Linked DNA regions of Homo sapiens: region 2 is linked to region 1. The links are contacts of gene promoters, found by promoter capture Hi-C in blood cells and fetal thymus (Javierre and others, 2016). All regions are on one chromosome and are shown on one strand. The core of a region is centred on a gene start or on the middle of the fragment in contact, and the rest is flanking DNA. Distances in the headings are between cores, read along the strand shown.

The links. The method cuts DNA at HindIII sites, captures the fragments that hold promoters and counts their contacts. A CHiCAGO score of 5 or more calls a contact.
Region 2: the fragment with the promoter of GTSE1 here is called in contact with the fragment with the promoter of CELSR1 in region 1 in 4 of 17 cell types (M0 macrophages, M1 macrophages, erythroblasts and 1 more); the score reaches 12.3 in M0 macrophages.

The regions. Positions count from the first base shown.
Region 1 is chr22:46,534,495-46,541,217 of GRCh38, reverse strand. CELSR1 (cadherin EGF LAG seven-pass G-type receptor 1) reads left to right here and starts at 3,598. Exons shown (of 35, transcript NM_001378328.1): 1 at 3,598-6,723. The coding sequence starts at 4,048. The HindIII fragment of the contact is 22,329 bases long and covers 1-6,723 here.
Region 2 is chr22:46,291,902-46,298,366 of GRCh38, reverse strand. GTSE1 (G2 and S-phase expressed 1) reads right to left here and starts at 1,497. Exons shown (of 12, transcript NM_016426.7): 1 at 1,436-1,497; 2 at 888-987. The coding sequence starts at 966. It overlaps GTSE1-DT (GTSE1 divergent transcript), which reads left to right and starts at 1,707. Exons shown (of 1, transcript NR_024009.1): 1 at 1,707-3,224. TTC38 (tetratricopeptide repeat domain 38) reads right to left here. Exons shown (of 14, transcript NM_017931.4): 14 at 4,359-5,576. The coding sequence ends at 5,483. RefSeq lists an enhancer at 980-1,089 and a silencer at 1,240-1,439. The HindIII fragment of the contact is 11,600 bases long and covers 1-3,135 here.

The sequences.
Region 1 (6,723 bases), core at 2,349-4,848:
GTGGACAAGCCCACCACATAGGTCACTGCCCTTTACAAAAAGCCCCACATATATCCCTTCTGCTCTCCAGGAATCAGCTCCACTTTCTGGAAACACATTGGGTGGACTGGATCAGTGTCCAAGTACAGACCCCTTGGGAAATCAGCTGAAAGCTGCAGCCCCTGCCTCTGCTCCAACACAGATGTGTGACCACATTCAATTCACATAATGAAGACAGAGAGGAGGCAGCCTTGAACTCATGCTAGGAAACAGCAACTGTGAAAATAGTAAATGCTATTACTGGCAGATCCATGCCTGAGCCAGACCCTGTGCCGACCGCTTCACACAGATTGTCTTGTTAATCCTTCAACAACGCTAGGAGTCTAGGACTATTGTGTCCAGTTAGAACAAGGAGTTAGGCCTTGGCGAAGGTCACACAACTAGTTAGTGGCAGAATTAAAGCTCAACCCCTCGAAGGTGCCAGTCATTCCAAACTCGTGATTTCTGATGCGGCCGGACCACCTGGCCGTCTCAGCACAAGCTGCGGCCTCCGTCTTGTTAGTCCCTCTCCCCTCCCCACTTACTTAAAATTGTGGATTCTAGGCCCGGCGCGGTGGCTCATGCCTGTAATCCCAGCACTTTGGGAGGCTGAGGTGGGTGGATCACCTGAGGTCAGGAGTTCCAGACCAGCCTGGTCAACATGGCGAAACCGTCTCTACTAAACATACACACATTAGTCAGGACTGGTGGTGTGTGCCTATAATCCCAGCTACTCTGGAGGCTGAGGCAGGAGAATTGCTTGAACCCAGGAGGTGGAGGTTGCATTGAGCTGAGATCGCGCCACTGTCCTCCAGCCTAGGTGAGAGAGCAAAACTCCGTCTCAAAAATAAATAAAGTAAAATAAAATAAAACTGTGGACTCTAAATAGGGTGTGGTGGCTCATACCTGTAATCCTAGCACTTTGAGAGGCTGAAGTGGGAGGATCTCTTGAGCCCAGAAGTTTGAGATCAACCTAGGCAACATAGCAAGACCCCATCTCTATTTAGCAATAAATAAAAATAGGCCAGGCACGGTGGCTCATGCCTGTAATCCCAGCACTTTGGGAGGCCGAGGTGGGCGGATCACGAGGTTGGGAGTTCGAGACCAGCCTGACCAACATGGAGAAACCCCGTCTCTACTGAAAATACAAAATTAGCCGGGCGTGAGGCGCACGCCTGTAATCCCAGCTACTAGGGAGGCTGAGGCAGAATTGCTTGAACCTGGAAGGCGGAGGTTGTGGTAAGCTGAGATCGTGCCATTGCACTCCAGCCTGGGCAACAACAGTGAAACTCTGTCTCAAAAAAACAAAACAAAACAAAACAAAACAAAACAAAAAAAAACAAAAACTGCCGACTCTAGATGCAGGCATAGGGAAAAGTACGCAAATCATGTGTTTGGAGTTCAAAGTGTGATCATGAAGCCGACACTCTGGTAACCCTCAGGTCCAGAAGGGGATGCCCCTCCTCCCCCAGAGCCCTCCTGAATGTGCCCATAATCACCTCCTTGTTTTTCTTCATCTTTCCCCTATTTGTGCACACCTCTAAACGTTATGGTGGAGTCGGGCTTGCTGTCGGTCTAAGCGTGAATGGAATGATCTTTTGTCTTTGCTGGACATCCTGTTAGTGAGATTCATCCATCCTCCCCTGTCCCTAGGTGTTGGGCAGTCCCTGTGGTTACCTCGCAGCCTGCAGGTGCCTTATTCCAGAAAAGCAGGCCCACACCTGAACCCACTGGCTGCAGCTGAGTTTTGTTTATTTAAACCCAACCCACTCTGCTTAAAGCCTTATTGCAAAACAGGCACTCCTGGGGTTCTCTGGTTTTTCCTCCTGCCTGGGTCCCCTTCAGGTCCGCCCAGTAGCCTTCCACTGGGAGGCTCCGGGCTCAGGGACCCGCCCTGCCTTCCGGCCCCAGAACTCCTGTCCTTTCATCCTTCCCGGAAAAATCCCAGTGGAAGGGTATATGGCGGGTGGGGAGGTCCTGGACCGCTCACATTAAGGAGACGGACTTTTCTCCTTCCTCCCCTCCCTCCACACACACATTTCCCAACAGGACTCTCCAGTGGAAACCTCGAATTAAAAGGTTCCAAAGCAACTCCACCTTTTAGATCAATATAACGTGTTCAAATCCTTGCTACTGGGAAGAAAATGCTCACATTGGGCTTCAGCACAAAGACACTGTTTCAGCAGCTTTGAGCGAAGTTGGCTGAGTATGCGTGTGACACACACACAGACACATCGCTCCGGGGGAGAAACCCTTCCGGTTCTCCACAGCCGCCCACGGTCCTCGTTGAGACTGGACTCATCTCAGCTCAGCTCAGAGATTTGGCTGCAGGATCCGACCCTCCCTTGCCAAAAAGACCCGTTCTAGGGGTGACTGCGCATTACTCCCACCCCCACCGCTCCGACCGGCCCCAGGAGAAGCCCTTCTAGGAGAGAAGAGGCGACCCCCACCTACCGTCCCCGACCACTGGGAGGCCTAAGGGCTGCACTGGACTCCGGCGCCCCGAGCGCCACCAAGGGAGTGCGCGCCCTTCCCAGCCGCTGGTGGCACAGTCCCAAAGCCCCGCCCATGCGGGGGGTCGCCAAGTCCTAAGCCTCCACCCCCTTTATCCCTGTGCCCCATCCGGAGGCAGGTGTACCCGTCACGCAAACCTAAAGCTGCCCCCGGCCCCCCGTGGTTCCCCGCAGGAGGCGGGGGTGTGTGTCACTTTTCTGAAAGCTCTAAGGTCTCTGCCCCCCGCCCCCCGCTGTCCTCCGTAGGAGGCTGGGCAGGGGCTGTGGCACAGCTCTAAATCCCTGCGGGTGCTTGCTTGCCCCAGGCAGCTTCCAGGACCCGCAGCCCCCCGCCTTCCCCGCAACCCGCTTCGGGAGGAGCCGGACGCTCGGGGATTCCGCGATGCGTCCGCGAACGCTCGGGTCGGGCCGCACGCGGGAGATGAGCGCGCCTCCGCCGTCCTCTCCAAATCCCTTATGTCAACCGGGGTTTTCTTCTTTCATTTAAAAGTTGCGCTTTAAACCAAGTGGGACGCAGATCCGGTAGCTGCCTATTGGGCTTCAAAGTCCAGGGAGTTTTAGTCGGGGTGAAGCATTTTAGCCTCCGTGCGTCTTGCTGTAAAATGGGTAACCCTCCTCGACAGCCTCCGCAGTCCTTAATGGGTGGGGGGGGGCTCCCCGGCCTCTCGGCCCCAGTCCTCCGCCCCCGGGTCCTACCCGCGCGGCACTCCTGGCGGCGGTCTCCGTGGATCTGTTCTGCCGGGGTGGGGAGCCAGGCTCTGAGCCGCGGCCCCGAGCCCGAGGTGCGGAGCCACCGCCCCACGGGTAGCGGCCACCGGGGGCCCCAGCCCCACCTTTCCCGGCCCTGTTGCCTCGGCCCCGCCCCACCGGGAGGCTGGGTGGGGAGGCCTCCGGGGAGTAGGGCCCCAGTCCCCGTCCCGGCCGCGCCCTCGCGTCTCCATAGCGATCCTCTCGGCGCGCACCTCCGAGCCGGCTCCCCCCGGGGCCGAACAATACGCCGCTGGGCCGGGGGCGGGGCGGGGCCGGGCCGGGGGCGGGGAGAGCGCGGGCGGAGTGGGCGCGGGCCAAGCGCACCGCCCAGGCAGCAGCCGGCCGCCGGGGTCTGCGCGGCGCGGAGCTGCCCAGCCCGCTCCGGGAACTCAGCCCCCGCCCCGCGCCGGGCCCGCCCCGCTTCCCACGCCCGTCCGGCCGAGCCCGCGCCGGAGCCACCTGGAGCCGCCTGGAGCCGCCGCCGCCGCCGCAGGTTGATGCGCGGCGCCCTCCCGGGACGCGCGGAGGAGCCATCTTGAAACCAACTTCGCAAACTTTCGCAAAGTGCTCTCGAAGTGGAAGCTGCGGGGGAGGCCGGGCGCGTGGTCCCCACAGTCCCCGCCAGGGCCCCCGGGGAGGCGGGACGCGGACCGCCCCGAGGGCCGGGCGCCCGGGAGCCGCTCCCCGGCCTCGCCGGGTGGATGCGGAGGCGCGCCGGGTGCATGGATTGTGTTCGGGCGCCCGGCTCGGGCTCGGGCTCCGGGCCATGGCGCCGCCGCCGCCGCCCGTGCTGCCCGTGCTGCTGCTCCTGGCCGCCGCCGCCGCCCTGCCGGCGATGGGGCTGCGAGCGGCCGCCTGGGAGCCGCGCGTACCCGGCGGGACCCGCGCCTTCGCCCTCCGGCCCGGCTGTACCTACGCGGTGGGCGCCGCTTGCACGCCCCGGGCGCCGCGGGAGCTGCTGGACGTGGGCCGCGATGGGCGGCTGGCAGGACGTCGGCGCGTCTCGGGCGCGGGGCGCCCGCTGCCGCTGCAAGTCCGCTTGGTGGCCCGCAGTGCCCCGACGGCGCTGAGCCGCCGCCTGCGGGCGCGCACGCACCTTCCCGGCTGCGGAGCCCGTGCCCGGCTCTGCGGAACCGGTGCCCGGCTCTGCGGGGCGCTCTGCTTCCCCGTCCCCGGCGGCTGCGCGGCCGCGCAGCATTCGGCGCTCGCAGCTCCGACCACCTTACCCGCCTGCCGCTGCCCGCCGCGCCCCAGGCCCCGCTGTCCCGGCCGTCCCATCTGCCTGCCGCCGGGCGGCTCGGTCCGCCTGCGTCTGCTGTGCGCCCTGCGGCGCGCGGCTGGCGCCGTCCGGGTGGGACTGGCGCTGGAGGCCGCCACCGCGGGGACGCCCTCCGCGTCGCCATCCCCATCGCCGCCCCTGCCGCCGAACTTGCCCGAAGCCCGGGCGGGGCCGGCGCGACGGGCCCGGCGGGGCACGAGCGGCAGAGGGAGCCTGAAGTTTCCGATGCCCAACTACCAGGTGGCGTTGTTTGAGAACGAACCGGCGGGCACCCTCATCCTCCAGCTGCACGCGCACTACACCATCGAGGGCGAGGAGGAGCGCGTGAGCTATTACATGGAGGGGCTGTTCGACGAGCGCTCCCGGGGCTACTTCCGAATCGACTCTGCCACGGGCGCCGTGAGCACGGACAGCGTACTGGACCGCGAGACCAAGGAGACGCACGTCCTCAGGGTGAAAGCCGTGGACTACAGTACGCCGCCGCGCTCGGCCACCACCTACATCACTGTCTTGGTCAAAGACACCAACGACCACAGCCCGGTCTTCGAGCAGTCGGAGTACCGCGAGCGCGTGCGGGAGAACCTGGAGGTGGGCTACGAGGTGCTGACCATCCGCGCCAGCGACCGCGACTCGCCCATCAACGCCAACTTGCGTTACCGCGTGTTGGGGGGCGCGTGGGACGTCTTCCAGCTCAACGAGAGCTCTGGCGTGGTGAGCACACGGGCGGTGCTGGACCGGGAGGAGGCGGCCGAGTACCAGCTCCTGGTGGAGGCCAACGACCAGGGGCGCAATCCGGGCCCGCTCAGTGCCACGGCCACCGTGTACATCGAGGTGGAGGACGAGAACGACAACTACCCCCAGTTCAGCGAGCAGAACTACGTGGTCCAGGTGCCCGAGGACGTGGGGCTCAACACGGCTGTGCTGCGAGTGCAGGCCACGGACCGGGACCAGGGCCAGAACGCGGCCATTCACTACAGCATCCTCAGCGGGAACGTGGCCGGCCAGTTCTACCTGCACTCGCTGAGCGGGATCCTGGATGTGATCAACCCCTTGGATTTCGAGGATGTCCAGAAATACTCGCTGAGCATTAAGGCCCAGGATGGGGGCCGGCCCCCGCTCATCAATTCTTCAGGGGTGGTGTCTGTGCAGGTGCTGGATGTCAACGACAACGAGCCTATCTTTGTGAGCAGCCCCTTCCAGGCCACGGTGCTGGAGAATGTGCCCCTGGGCTACCCCGTGGTGCACATTCAGGCGGTGGACGCGGACTCTGGAGAGAACGCCCGGCTGCACTATCGCCTGGTGGACACGGCCTCCACCTTTCTGGGGGGCGGCAGCGCTGGGCCTAAGAATCCTGCCCCCACCCCTGACTTCCCCTTCCAGATCCACAACAGCTCCGGTTGGATCACAGTGTGTGCCGAGCTGGACCGCGAGGAGGTGGAGCACTACAGCTTCGGGGTGGAGGCGGTGGACCACGGCTCGCCCCCCATGAGCTCCTCCACCAGCGTGTCCATCACGGTGCTGGACGTGAATGACAACGACCCGGTGTTCACGCAGCCCACCTACGAGCTTCGTCTGAATGAGGATGCGGCCGTGGGGAGCAGCGTGCTGACCCTGCAGGCCCGCGACCGTGACGCCAACAGTGTGATTACCTACCAGCTCACAGGCGGCAACACCCGGAACCGCTTTGCACTCAGCAGCCAGAGAGGGGGCGGCCTCATCACCCTGGCGCTACCTCTGGACTACAAGCAGGAGCAGCAGTACGTGCTGGCGGTGACAGCATCCGACGGCACACGGTCGCACACTGCGCATGTCCTAATCAACGTCACTGATGCCAACACCCACAGGCCTGTCTTTCAGAGCTCCCATTACACAGTGAGTGTCAGTGAGGACAGGCCTGTGGGCACCTCCATTGCTACCCTCAGTGCCAACGATGAGGACACAGGAGAGAATGCCCGCATCACCTACGTGATTCAGGACCCCGTGCCGCAGTTCCGCATTGACCCCGACAGTGGCACCATGTACACCATGATGGAGCTGGACTATGAGAACCAGGTCGCCTACACGCTGACCATCATGGCCCAGGACAACGGCATCCCGCAGAAATCAGACACCACCACCCTAGAGATCCTCATCCTCGATGCCAATGACAATGCACCCCAGTTC
Region 2 (6,465 bases), core at 248-2,747, 240 kb after region 1:
CACTGCACTCCAGCCTGGGAGACAGAGTGAGACTTGGTCTCAAAAAGAAAGGATCCTTGGGTAGTGTGAGAAAACTACCCAAGGGATGTCAAAATGCTTTGTGAGGCTGGGTGAGGTGGCTCACACCTATAATCCTAGCACTTTGGGAGGCCGAGGCAGGCAGATTGCCTGAGCTCAGGAGTTCGAGACCAGCCTGGGCAACATGGCAAAACCCCGTCTCTGTTAAAAATACAAAAATGAGCCAGGTGTGGCAGCGGGTGCCTGTAATCCCAGTTACTAGGGAGGCTGAGGCAGGAGAATCCCTTCAACTCAGGAGAGAGAGGTTGCAGTGAGTACAGATCACGCCTTTGCACTCCAGCCTGGGTGAGAGAGCGAGACTCCGTCAATAAATAAATAAATAAATAAATAAAAACGCTTTGAGAGAAAAAGAGGGTGTGGCCTGTAACTCATTCTGTGAAGCTGTACCCTCACCTTGATACCCAAACCAGTCAAAGACACAAGAAGAAAGGGGTTTGGGGCCAGGCTTACTCATTAACATGGTCTCAAAGATCCTAAATAAGTCTTAGCAAACAGAAACCAGCGACAAACAAAAAAGAAAACATCGAATTCAATACAATAAATATTTGAGAGCCCACAAAGTGTTAGGTGCTGTTCAGGGCATGGGAGCACTGCGGTAAATAAAACGGATGAGAATCCTGGCTGTGATGAAACTTAAAATGGGGAGGAGGTGAAAGAAAACCAGAAAACGAAGGCAGATGTCATGTGTTTCACAGGTGCAGAGTACAAGTCGAGCACTTGAGAAAGAATTTCTCAGGGAAACATTAAATCACCCTCCATCTCTACTGAACATCCTGAACAACAACAGCGCCGCAGCAGCAAGGACTTGCCTTCCTTCTTAGGGTCATCCATGTTCACGTCCCCTGCCCGGCAGGCTGAAGGCTCATCGCGGCCGCCGCCTCCTTCCATGGAGAGAGCTGTCAGAAGTCACTGCAGGGTGGAACGGGGCCAGAAAGTGAGTACGTGTCAGGGCCCAGGGCTCCGGCTTCCTTCAGCCCTCGGCTCACAGAGGCAGAGAGAGCTGAAGGCCGCGGCCAGGTCTGGGAGAGGCGGCGCGGGGGCCGCTCTGAAATGATCGCATCCCAGGGGACCCCAGGGCCCGAGTGCCGCCAGGCCGGGAGTCAGCCCGAACGCCATCAGACGAGATAACGGAATTCTCGGCTTCTGGGCCAGAGTGTTGGGGGCTCTGTTTGCCTGGGGGGCAGCCCTAGACCTCCCGGCATCCCCGACCACGGCGCGAGGGGCCTCAGTGACCCCTGCTCGAGCCCAGGCCCGGCTCCTGGCGGGGCGCGGCCCCTCCCCGTCCCGAAAACGGCGGGCACCGCGCCGCACCGGGCCCACCGGGCAAGCCTCGCCCCCGACCCTGACCCCACCTTACCCAAAGCGGCAGACGATGCAGGACGCGCCTCCGGCACGGATTTAAACGCGGCGCCGGGAGACGCGGGTTGCCGATTGGTCGGTTTGAAAAGGGCTCCGAGAGGCGGCGGGCTGGGTGCGTCCTGGGTATTGTAGTCAGGACGCTGGTAAGAAGCGTCCAGTGCGCATGCGCACTGCTTCAGCGCAGCGAATGGCTCCGCACAGCGCCAGGGATCACCCACCCGGAAGTCTGCCCGGCCTGGCCGCCAAGTGTCACTAGGTATCCGCGTCAAGCCGGAACCATGTATAGCAGCTCCTTGTGTGTAGGGAGAAAGTTAAAACTGCCATCTAAGGGTGTCGATGGGAAGACTAAAAGTAGGCTCACCCACCTGCTGTGAAGCAGCGCGCGCGAGCTGTTACTAACAGTAGTGAAAAGCCGGGATCCCTGCCCCCGAGGCACGCACTGGGGCGCCGGCTGACCCAGAGACCTGAGGGAGACTCATTGCCGGAGCTGCACAGCCTGTGGGGCTGGAGGGGAACCGTCGCCCTTGGCGGGCTTCCCCAACCGCCAAGGCCTGAGGACCGCCGAGGGCGTGGCGGGAGCCTGTCCTCGGTTTTACAGGCCGGCTGGGGAGCTGCGTTGGAGGAGAGAGCCAGGGGCTGGGGCCCGGTGATGGAGCCTGCCTTGGGGAGTGCATGTGTTGGAGAGAGGTGGGAAGCAGATAGGATAACCCTGACCTGAGCCATGGAGACGCAAGGACAGGACTGGTAGACGGGTCAGTGGGCAGCAACTTAAGACTGACCTCGCTTGAGCCTTTGCCTGCGAACGAGGTATAATACCCACCTCGGGGGCTTGAGGATCAAATGAGGGGCTCCACCCACGGCAAAGTGTCACTAAGCGGGATGGAGGAGGATGCAGGAAGAGGAGTCTGGGAGGACCCGCTCTGAAAAGGATGGAACTCGAGAGCACCATTTTCAGGGACGAAGATAAGCTGTTTATTTGGGGCAGGCTGTGGGGAGAGCTGTGCAGCAAACAGCCACCCGGGGCCCAGGGCAGAGGCCTTCCAGGCTGGCTCGGGCACTTCTGGGTCCCATGTCCCTGGTTTTGCATCATCCATACCAATCACTCCATGTTGCTATGTTCCTTCACCAGAAGACTGGGGGCTCAAAAAGGGCAGGGCAGCCCTCACTCACCAGTCTCCCCAGCCTCACCCAGCTCAGCACAGGGCACCAGGCAGGGGCTGAGAGTGCTGGGGTAGGTGGGTGTGGTCAAACAGCTTGGAAAGAGTTTGGCCTGCTCATTGCATTCCCCTCAGCTCATCCTGGGGATGTCTGCTCATGGGAGAATGGCAGAGGGATCCCCAACAGTCATTCCTGATACTCCTCTCCCTGTATCATGTCAGCACATAGTAGGTGTGGCCTATGTATGGCAGATTCATTTCTGCCCCCAATAGGATTTGCTGTAGTTTGGATGTGTGTCCCCTCAAAATCTCATGTTGAAATGTGATCCCAATGTTGGAAGTGGGGCCTGGTGGGAAGTAATTGGGTCGTGAGGGCAGATCCCTTATGAATGGTTCAGCACCATCCCCTTGGTGATGAGTTCTTGCTTAGTTCACACAAGATCTGGTTATTTAAGAGTCTAAGACCTCCCCTTCTCTCTTACTCCTGCTCTCACTATGTGATATACTGGCTCCCCATCACCTTATGTCATGATCTTAAGCTTCCTGAGGTTGCACCAGAAGCAGATGCCAGCACCATACTTCCTGAAAAGCCTGCAGAACTGTGAGCCAATTAAACCTCTTTATAAATTACCTAGCGTCAGGTATTTCTTCATAGCAATGCAAGAAGGCCTAATACAGAGTTTGACTTCATTTATTTATGCCTTCATTCACCAACTTTCACTGACAGCTACTCAGTGCAGGCCATGTGCCAGGTGATGCTGGGGACAGATGCTGTCCCTGACCTGGAGAGGTCATGGCAGGGGTGCAAGAGCAAGGGCAAGTGCCAAGGGCTGAGGGGCACAGAGGCAGCACCCTCACCAGCCTGCAGTGGGGGTTGGCGGGTAGAAGGCTTCCTGGAGGAGGGACCAGGGTTCCCAATTGCACAGCCAAGTCATGTCTTCTTGCTTGGAACCAGGAGAGGGGAAGGAGGCTCCCCTTAGGATGTGTCCCTAGTTCTTGGGTAGAGAAGGCGCCTCTCTGGAAATACTACTATAATTACCCCTTTTCTTTCTTTCTTTTTTTTTTTTTTTGAGACGGAGTCTTGCTTTGTCGCCCAGGCTGGAGTGCAGTGGCGCGATCTCCGCTCACTGCAAGCTCTGCCTCCCGGGTTCACGCCATTCTCCTGCCTCAGCCTCCCGAGTAGCTGGGACTACAGGCGCCCACCACCATGCCCGGCTAATTTTTTGTATTTTTAATAGAGATGGGGTTTCACCGTGTTAGCCAGGATGGTCTTGATCTCCTGACCTCGTGATCTACCTGCCTCAGCCTCCCAAAGTGCTGGGATTACAGACGTGAGCCACTGCGCCCGACCTCCCATTTTCTTGACTAGATGCCCCACCTACTTTTTTTTTTTTTTCCCTTGAGATGGGAGTCTCGCTCTGTTGCCCAGACTGCAGTGCAATGGCACGATCTTGGCTCACTGCAATCACTGCCTCCCAGGTTCAAGTGATTCTCCTGCCTCAGCCTCCCGAGTAGCTGGGATTACAGACGTGTGCCACCATGCTCAGCTAATTTTTGTATTTTCAGTAGACACAGGGTTTCACCATGTTGGCCAGGCTGATCTCGAACTCCTGACATCAGGGGATCCACCCACCTCAGCCTCCCAAAGTGGTGGGATTACAGGCGTGAGCCACTGCGCCTGGCCTGCCCCACCTACCTTAAGTTCAAGGAGAAGCCATCTCCCCAGGACCCAGCCCCAGGCCTGCACCACAGATGCTCAAAGACTTGGAGGAACTGATGAATTCATTTTAATCACAGAAATTTGCCTGGGCTTGAGCAAACTGTGGGGACTCAATAGATTTGGAGGCCTCCTCTCCCTTCTGAGAGGCCTGCCTGCTTCCTGCCCTGATGAATCCCTAATTTCAGTACAAACTGAGGAACTTGAAAAACATCTGTGCACTGGGACCGCCCCTCACAGGAGGGCTGAAAGCAGCACAGCTGAGTCAGCGGCACATTCAGCAGGCGTTCAGTGGGGAAGCAGGAGACAGAGGCGGCGCTCACAGGACCCGCTCCAGGCTTGTCACAGCCACACATCACAGCACTTTGGGTTTTGCCACAACAGAGCAGCTCTGAGCTCAATCCTTGCACCTCAGAAGTGCATTTATGATTAAAATCATGCTCGACATGAAGCCCTGTTATGATGTGCAGTTTAAAAAGAGAAACGGGTCCAAATCAGCACCAACAGAGCCCCCCAGGGGGCTCCAAGACTCGCCCCAGAGACAGCAGAAGGACCCCATGTGCGCGCTGATCTGTAAGAAGGGTGGTGGATGCAGCAGCAGGGGGCTGCGTCCAAAGGCAGCAGGTGGGGGCCTCTCATAGTGTGACCCTGGGCAGGCCACTCCCCTACCCCGGTACCCTCACCTGAAAAATGGGACAGCAACACAATGAGACAACAGAGACTGTCTAGAATATAAAGAAAAGAATGAAAAGGTCCATCCCAAGGGCAGCCTGGTGGGGACGGGGACAGGCAGTGGGGGGAGGCTGCCTCTGGAAGACCTGTCCCAGCAGAATCAGCCCCCACCTCTGCCCTGCCTTCCAACCTTTGAACCACCAGGCAGTAGACACATTCCCCTGGGAAACAGAATTTGCAAGGCAGGTGGAAAGAGCAGCACTCACACTGGCTGTGACTGCTGAAAAATGCTCATTGGCCCTTCTCGAGGACTGAAAGGAGATTCGGAATCACATTTAAAATTAACCCGTGACCCACTTCCTGTAAAACTGAAGATCACCCTCTAACAGCCCTAACAAACAGGCTCTGGCCGTCTCCTGACCCTAACCCGGTGGAGCAGCTGACTGGACGCAGTGACGCCACCACTGAGGTTCTGCAGGGTGGAGGCGGCCAGGCTGGCTCACTGCATGAGGTGGACGGTAGCTGCCTTGCGGATGAGCCGCTCGGTCAGGGGCGAGTTGGGCTTCAAGGCATCACGCTCCATCAGAAGGCTCCTGTGGAAACAGACACAGAGGTCCTGTTACAGAACCTTCTAGAGGGATGTGGGGCCTGGTGGTCCCTTGGTCCCAAGGCAGAACACAGGCAGGCTAGACTGCGGCACTGAGGGAACAGCAAGGGCCAAGGCCCAGGGGCAGGAGGCCTGGCCTCAGTTTGGGGAGAGGTGAGGATGGGAGGGCACAGACCTCCAGTGCAGGAAGCCACACCCGAGATGGGGCACAACAGGTGGCAGTGGGGAAAACCCAGGTTTGAAGAGAGAAGACCCAGGTACGGTTTGAGGTAAAGACCCTGCTGTGGACTGAATGTCTGTGTCCAGGCTAAATGTATATGTTGAAGCCCAAATGCCCAAGGTGATGGTATTAAGAACAGGGCCTCTTGGAGGTGATTAAGTCATGAGGGTGGGGCCCTTGTGAATGGGATTAGTGCCCTTATAAGAAGAGATAGGTGTGGTGGCTCACCCCTGTAATCCCTGCACGATGGAAGGATGAGGCAGGAAGATTCCTTGAGCCCAGGAGTTTGAGTTTACAGTGAACTGTGATCACACCACTGCATTCCAACCTGGATGACCGAGTGAGACCTTGCCTCTAAAAATATAAAAAAATTTAAAAAGAAAGAAGAAAGAAGAGACGTGAAAGAATTAGCACTCAAAGGAAAGGTCATGTGAGGACACAGCAAGAAAGTGGCTGTCCACAAGCCAGGAAGAGAGGCCTCAGCAGAAACTGAACCCAGCCAGGCCTTGTTCCTGGACATTCCAGCCTCCAGAACTGTGAGACAGTGCATGCCTACTGTGCAAGCCGCCCAGACTGTGGCACTTTTATTTTTTAATTTTTTGAGATAGAATCTCCCTCGGTCACTCAGGCTGGAGTGCAATGACGCGATCTCGGC